2 separate regions of the Homo sapiens genome follow, and region 1 is linked to region 2. The links are contacts of gene promoters, found by promoter capture Hi-C in human tissues and cell types (Jung and others, 2019). All regions are on one chromosome and are shown on one strand. The core of a region is centred on a gene start or on the middle of the fragment in contact, and the rest is flanking DNA. Distances in the headings are between cores, read along the strand shown. Region 1 overlaps NUMA1 (nuclear mitotic apparatus protein 1). Region 2 holds the start of RNF121 (ring finger protein 121).

Region 1 (3,577 bases), core at 480-2,979, 140 kb before region 2:
TTGAAAGCAGGGAAATGAGAAAAGGCTTGGCTCACGCAGAGAGAAGTGGGAAGACTGGCTTGATCAATTCAGAGTATATTCTGTAGAATAGTGGGAAATAAGGTTGAATAAATGACTTGAGGCCATATAATGGAGGATTTGGAAAGTTAAGCCAAAGAATTTAGATATGATGCTTTAGGGAGAAGAAAACTGGAAGATTTTTGAGCAGGAGGAGAGACACTTGAAAATGAGAGTGGTGTGGGGCCTCCTGAGGAAGAAGTTTTCTGGCTTAAAGACTGAAATCCTAACAGGGCAGGGCCTTCACAGTGCTGACCAAGTGTGGGTGTGGCTTGGCAGTCTTGCCACAGAAGGCCAGAATTTCTGCCCCAGTGACTCTTCCTGCTCTGCCACTGACTCACCCCGTTGACCTGGCCTGCATGGCTTCCCTTCTGCTTGCTGTCTGATCCACAGAACGCTGGGGTTGCCCAGGATAATGTGAGGCTGAGCTCACTAAGAGTGGGTGGGTTAGGGGAATGAATAATCATTCCTGTCCCTTTGCCCCTTCCCTAGGTGGAAACTAATTCTAAGCCAGACTGCTGGAGATCACCCTGTTCTAGTGTGTGGAGGCTTCCACCAGGAGGTAAGTCAAAATGGTTTCTGCCCTCTAGTTTTTCATAGGTCAGCTTTGTCCTGAGCAGGATCTCTACCATTTACTTTTTCCCTGACCCAGATTCTTCAAAGTGATTGTCTTTGTCTTTCAATTATTTGAGGCAAACAGGTTACTGTAGGAGGAGAGCAGAGAGGTTTAATAAAGATATTTTTCTAACTGTGGGAGGGTGGTGTCCAGAGGTTTTCATTGGCCCTTGCTCTGAGGTAGATTGCCCAGAACTCTTGTGAGCCAGACACTAAACATTGGCCATTGAGGCCACTGCAGAGAAGTCCTGGTTTTTAAGCCATCATTTCTCTGCTACTGGGTTTCAGAACCATTCTTGGTGTGCTTTAGTGTCCCAAGTTATTTCTGTCCCTTTTGATCAGGGGAGTGAAGGAAGTGAGAAGCAGGGGAGGAGGAGCTGTATACATAAGTATGTGTGGGTGCATTATGCTGGGAGTTTGGGTGTCTGGGTTTCTCATCCTGACTGTTGCTAACCAGATGTGTGACCAGGGACAAATTGCCTAACCTCAATGGACTGAACTTTTCTCATATGTAAAAAGGGACAGTTAGGATTATATGATCTTGAAGATTTCTTCCAGGGCCAAAATTTATCATTATATAATGTGTAATTATAAAGTGATATAATAGTTGAACAAATGTGACAGATATTGTACATGTCTTGCCCCCTTGATTGTAATTATGGGGCAATTAGAATGTTTTTAAGTTTGACCCCTTCAAAGTAATTGTGTTCTCAGCCTTTAGATTTCCTTTGGTGATGGTGTCATTGCCTCAGACTGCCTCTGAGCCAATCTTTTGAATATCCTCAGAGGTAGCAAATCTTTACTCTTAGCTTGGTGGATTCAATTTTTAGAAACAGCCAGAAGATGCCGTGAGCCAAAGATTCATGCAAGGCAATACCTTTTTTGGTGAAGGATGAGGTGTGACTATAAAACAGTAACACCGAATTTTTCTGTTTGTCTCACATGGAGTAGACTTTAAAGGCAGCTCCCAAAGAAGTGTTTTGTTAGAATAAGTAAATAACTTCCTAAGGAGAGTATTTTGATTGCAGTTTTCATTTGATTTAATAAGATTAGAAATGTCTGCTGGAAAACAAGTCACTTTCCTTTATAGTGACTGTGCATATGCTTGCTTATAGGTTGGGGTGACTAGATAATGGAGAAAACTGGCCTTTCTTTTCTTTTTTTTTTCCAGACAGGGTCTCTCTCTGTCACCCAGACTGGAGTGCAATGGCGGGATCTCAGCTCACTGCAACCTCCACCTCTCGGGTTCAAGCGATTCTCCTGCCTCAGCCTCCCTAGTAGCTATGATTACAGGCATGTGCCACCATGCCCAGCTAATTTTTTGTATTTTTAGTAGAGACAGGGTTTCACCATGTTGGTCAGGCTGGTCTTGAACTCCTGACCTCAAGCGATCCACCCGCCTTGGCCGCCCAAAGTGCTAGGATTACAGGCGTGAGCCACCGCGCCCTGCCAAAAACTGGTCTTTCTCCTGGTACTCCTCCCAAATCACAAGTGTGTTGAGGGCTGAAACACAAGTGTGTTGAGGGAACAAGTGTGTTTCAACATGTTGCTCTATAGGAAACTGCAGCTGAGGAGCCATTGCAGTCCCATCTCCAGAAGACCCCCAGAAAGAGTTGGAAGAGTTCTTCAGGCTGTGGCAGCCACTGCCCACCAACACACCCAAATCAATCAAGATGAATCCCAGGTGGTGAGGCTGAAGCAGATGGTTTGGTAGCTCCAGTCTTTTTTTAGGCAGAAATGATGTATTAAATCACTACATTGATTTTTTTGTTGTTGTTAGCAGTTGTGGGTTTGAAAAAAGGTAGGCAGGAAGATGGTGAAGGGGTCAAGCCTAGGGGCTGTTATCTTGAATATATGCAAATTAAGCTGATTATATTGTAGTGCCCTGTAACCTGTTCCTGGAAACAGTGGTCTTGAAAACTCATCAGTTAAATGAGGTGTTAGACAGCCTGGTCAAAAGATTCTGTGACTAAGTTACTGTATAATCATTTGCAATTCTCTTTCTTACTCTAAACATTGTTTTCCTCATTTTTATATTGAAAGAGTTAAGAGATGCTAAAAATTCTAGATCTGAAAATTGGATAAGCCTAAGAAGGTTTGAGGTAGGGAAATGTCTATTCTAAGCTGTTTGACTACTGGACTTGGGGTAGGAGTGGAATTTCTTTTTTACTTCCTAAATTATAGTTACTTTACTCTCTACTTATAGTCACAGCTGGGTGATCAGACATTAAGTAGCTATTTAATGAGAAGCAGGCACTGGAAGCTTGCTCCAGAAAAACAATCACAGGACATGTTGGTCCTGAGAGAAGTCATTCCTTGGTAGGACCTATTGTTTGAAGGAGGTGGGGGTGAATTTCATCAAAATGGACAGTGTGGATATTGTGATTCAGAGGATTGAGAGACTTTGTTTCCTGCTGTTATTAATTTCAAGCCTTTTTTAAAGGGATTCTCCTAGTGATTGGTACAGTGGGATTCATTTAGAGAAAAAGCCTTGTGTACCAGTTGGAAGTTAATGCCCAAGAGCAGGGCCAGTTGCTGGAGGACAAAGTGGCCTAATTAGTTGCTTTTCAATACTTAGATCCTACAGGCTACCCCAAAGATAAAATAGGCTACTTTGTAGCTCAGATCTTCCAGCCTAGTGCCTAGCAAGCTCACTAAGAAGAGGAGGTGACCTGTAGAATCCACACCTCTTAATCTCCCTATTTCTCTTCTTTCCCTCATTGCCCTTTAGTTTTAATTAGGATTGTGTAAACATAGTCATCTTGCCAGTCCTCTTAAAGTGGCAGGCCCTTGGCATTTTCTGCTGGTCACTCATGCTATATGTATAACTTGCAATTAGAGGGACTAGCTTTGACAATTTGCCATCCCTGGCTGTACCACTGAAAGAATTCAGATAAGGGCCAAT
Region 2 (3,332 bases), core at 596-3,095:
ACTGCACTCCAGCCTGGGCAATAAGAGCGAAACTCCATCTCAAATAAAAAAAGAAAATGTTATTTTCTCCTCTGCCAAAACTTCTGCTGTTTATCTCAATGAACCCTGACATATGTAACTACAGCTTTGAGATATACGTAATTGTCTCAAGGGAGAGCCCATGACTAACAAACCTTAAATAAGAACTTCAATACAGTATTTACCCTTTCCAAAGTGTCTTCAAATATATCTCACTGAACCACAGCCAACTGTAATCACAGAAATGTAAAAGCTAGAAGGGGTCTTGGAGGTCATTTCCACAACCACTCCACCTAACCAACCAACTGGTATCCAAACACCTGTAGTCTCTAGTGATTGGGAGGTAGAAGACTACAACACTTCTTTAAAAATCCCCCTGCTGTGATCACCTGTCAATTTCTCAGTCCCTTCCTCCCACCTTAATGATCCCAATCAGGTAATCCAACTCCTCCAACTCATCCCACTACCAGGCAACAGTCTTATTGCTTCCCAAGTCCACTTCTCCCTTTCTCTGAACCTCATCTTCAATCATCCCCAATCCTCCCCACTCTTCCCACACCCAACACACAGCAAGGGGCCTCTAAGATTCTGACCCCTCAGAGATCTCACTGGTTCTATCTCTGACAACCAATCCCCTTCCTCCTATTCCTGTGATGTCTTTGCCCATATGCTGGCATGTGCAAGATCACAAACACCACTAGCTATCAATGTCTCCATGGCTTCAGAATCTTTTCACCTCTGTCTCTGCTTCTCTGCCCTGTCCCTTCATTCCTTTCACACTCAACATCTCCTTCCTCCTAGTGATTCCTTCAAGGACCACTGGTATTTTAATACACCAGTCTTTAAATGCCTATTAGATAGGTAAAGGGAACATACAATCTCAAGGAGCTCACCTTCAAGGAACTCATAAATCCAGAAGAAGAGAGAGACACTTATTTATCGTTTAAAACTCAGCAACTCCGGGAAGCCTTCCCTATCCCAAGCTGAAATGTTGCACACTTCTCAGTGCCACCATTATATCTCTAATGCAATGACTAGTCTTCTTGTCTGTCTCCCACCACTAGACTGTGGGCTCTTCAACGGAGGGGCCCCTTGTCTCCCTAGCACCTGGCCCAGAACCCGGAGCAAAAGTCATAATGTTTATTAAGTGAATAAATGCATGAATTCCGGCATACAATCATTTATTCATCCACTTGTTCCTTCATTCGTTGGCCAAAACTTTACTGAGCATGCATTAGATACAAAGTCTTAGAATGGAACGATAAATAAAACAGTTCCAACTTTAAGATAACTCAAAGCTATACTACTAGTGGATTAGCACTCTTTCCCGGTCTGTGTCCCCAACCCCCACCCTAGGCTTAGACAGAGTCCTCTCCCACAGTAGAAGCCCAGCCTTCCCCTGAAGAAATTCACGTCCCTCCAACTCAAACTACCTCTTAGCCCTTCGGTCCTACCCTAAGACACCCAGCTAGTAATCACAAAATCTTAACACCCCCACCCCTCCGACCTCTCTCTCTGTCCTCCATCTTCACCCTTGAGGCTAATGCAAGTCTTCTACTCCCAAGGCCGCCTCGGAGTCCCCAAGTCAGGAGTGCCTCTGACTTCGCTCTCCACGCACCCGCCCCCTAGTCAGCTCCTTCCCTCTCAGGATCTTTCCCTTCTCTCCTAAGACCCCCACCTCCCGATACCTCACTGCCCCTCCCCTCAGTCTCAGGTTGAGTCTCTCCTCGTCTCTCAACTCCGCTTACCTCATCCAGCTCCCGTTCCCCAGCAGCACCACCTCCAACCTCCACCTCCACCACTGCCGCCATCTTCACGGCTCGCCCCCTCACCGCAGTCCCCGCGCGAGCCAGCTGCTTCCGCTGCTCAAGTGCTCCTAGCCAATCGGCGGCTCGGACTCCAGCAGAGGGGGCGGGGCATCAACACAGGCGGAGACTGTCAGGGATCAGGAGGTTATCTACTTGCTGCACGTTTCAGGGTCAAGGAGAGGGGAGTACCGTGCCCTTGCAAGCTTCAGCAAGGGAGCGTTCTTGGAAAATGAGAAATTTGAATCGCATTATTTTCAGTGCAACTATTTAACCAATTCTTCCCTTTGGAGAGCCAAATGGGAGCGTTCCAAAACGGGCAACTTTCGCGACGCTCCCTCAGTCTGGGCTCCAAGGAGCGAGACGTGGGGACTAGGAACTACGTTTCCCAAGCTGCACTGAGGCTGACCCGGAAGTTTAAATTCCGCTCCCTCCACGAAAGAGTTGTAGTGAGTGAAAATAAATATTAAAACACACGGAAATGTATTTTCCTGGCTGCAGCACCTGCCATCTTGCCTCGGTAGGACTCATTTTCAAAAACAGCAGCTTCTTGAAGCCCCAGAACGCATTCCTGTGCTACGGAAGACGGAAGAGTAGCTCTCGGGGTCAGAAGGCGAAGGTCAGAAGGCCGAATTGGCGGGAGAATAGGTTTGGTGGTCCGAGATCCGAGGCAACGGTGGCTCCTCGAGGTCCACGGTCCCGGGTGAGGGGCGTTGGGATTTGTTGATGGGGAGGGGAGTGGCCGAGAGGGAGGAGGGTGGCCATCAAGGAAATGAACTGAGCAGCCTGTTCCCGATGAGCTGTGAAAGCAGCGGTGCGGCTTGAGCTCCCGAAACTGAGAGCTGAAGAGCCTTGCGGGACCTCCAGGGCACCCACATTCCGCGTCTTACTTAGGCTGTCATGCCAGTTCACACACCTCGGCACACTTTTCTAACCCACATCCTGCGGCCCCAGCTTCTGCCTTACCCTCCTTTTTATACACCATTCACTGTCCCACCCCTACGTATACCTTCATAACTGATTTTTCAGCAGCCGGTGAACTCGATACCTTGCAAGCCTGTAGCCCCAGCTCACACGCCTCTGGGCGTCCGCCTGGATCTGTCTGGTGAATGGAACTAGGATGGCCTGTGAGCCCACAGAACGTCTAGAAAAGTCAGCTTTACATTGGGACCAACAGAAAATTACAGGGAATTATCTACATCATCCACAGGCATCCCATTTACTTAAAAATAATCATTTTTATTTTGTGACACTTAATACGGAGAATATTGTAAATACTGTACACCCATCACCCTAAATTGACTACTGGCATTATGATTTATTTGCTTATTTTTTAAAAGCTAGATAATACAATAAAAGTTAAACTTACCTGTTTTTTCTACTCTCAAGCCTATTACCCTCTCATCCTCTCCAGAAGCAACTATTATGAATTAGAATTAGCTTGTGTTCTCCCAGTCCATTTTTAATAATTATATGTAGCCATGACTATATAGTATTGTATTGTGTTTC

The links. The method cuts DNA at HindIII sites, captures the fragments that hold promoters and counts their contacts. A contact is called where the count stands out against the background at its distance.
Region 1: a contact is called between a fragment that was not itself captured here and the fragment with the promoter of RNF121 in region 2, in 1 of the 25 tissues and cell types used here (spleen).

The regions. Positions count from the first base shown.
Region 1 is chr11:72,066,884-72,070,460 of GRCh38, reverse strand. It overlaps NUMA1 (nuclear mitotic apparatus protein 1), which reads left to right. Exons shown (of 27, transcript NM_006185.4): 2 at 550-619. Among named protein-coding and RNA genes, the nearest start is that of MIR3165, 3.6 kb to the left of the region's middle. The HindIII fragment of the contact is 8,682 bases long and covers 1-3,577 here.
Region 2 is chr11:71,927,559-71,930,890 of GRCh38, reverse strand. It overlaps RNF121 (ring finger protein 121), which reads right to left and starts at 1,845. Exons shown (of 9, transcript NM_018320.5): 1 at 1,767-1,845. The coding sequence starts at 1,829. XNDC1N (XRCC1 N-terminal domain containing 1, N-terminal like) reads left to right here and starts at 2,297. Exons shown (of 6, transcript NM_001375847.2): 1 at 2,297-2,526. It overlaps XNDC1N-ZNF705EP-ALG1L9P (XNDC1N-ZNF705EP-ALG1L9P readthrough), which reads left to right and starts at 2,297. Exons shown (of 11, transcript NR_172895.1): 1 at 2,297-2,526. RefSeq lists an enhancer at 2,155-2,464. The HindIII fragment of the contact is 22,719 bases long and covers 1-3,332 here.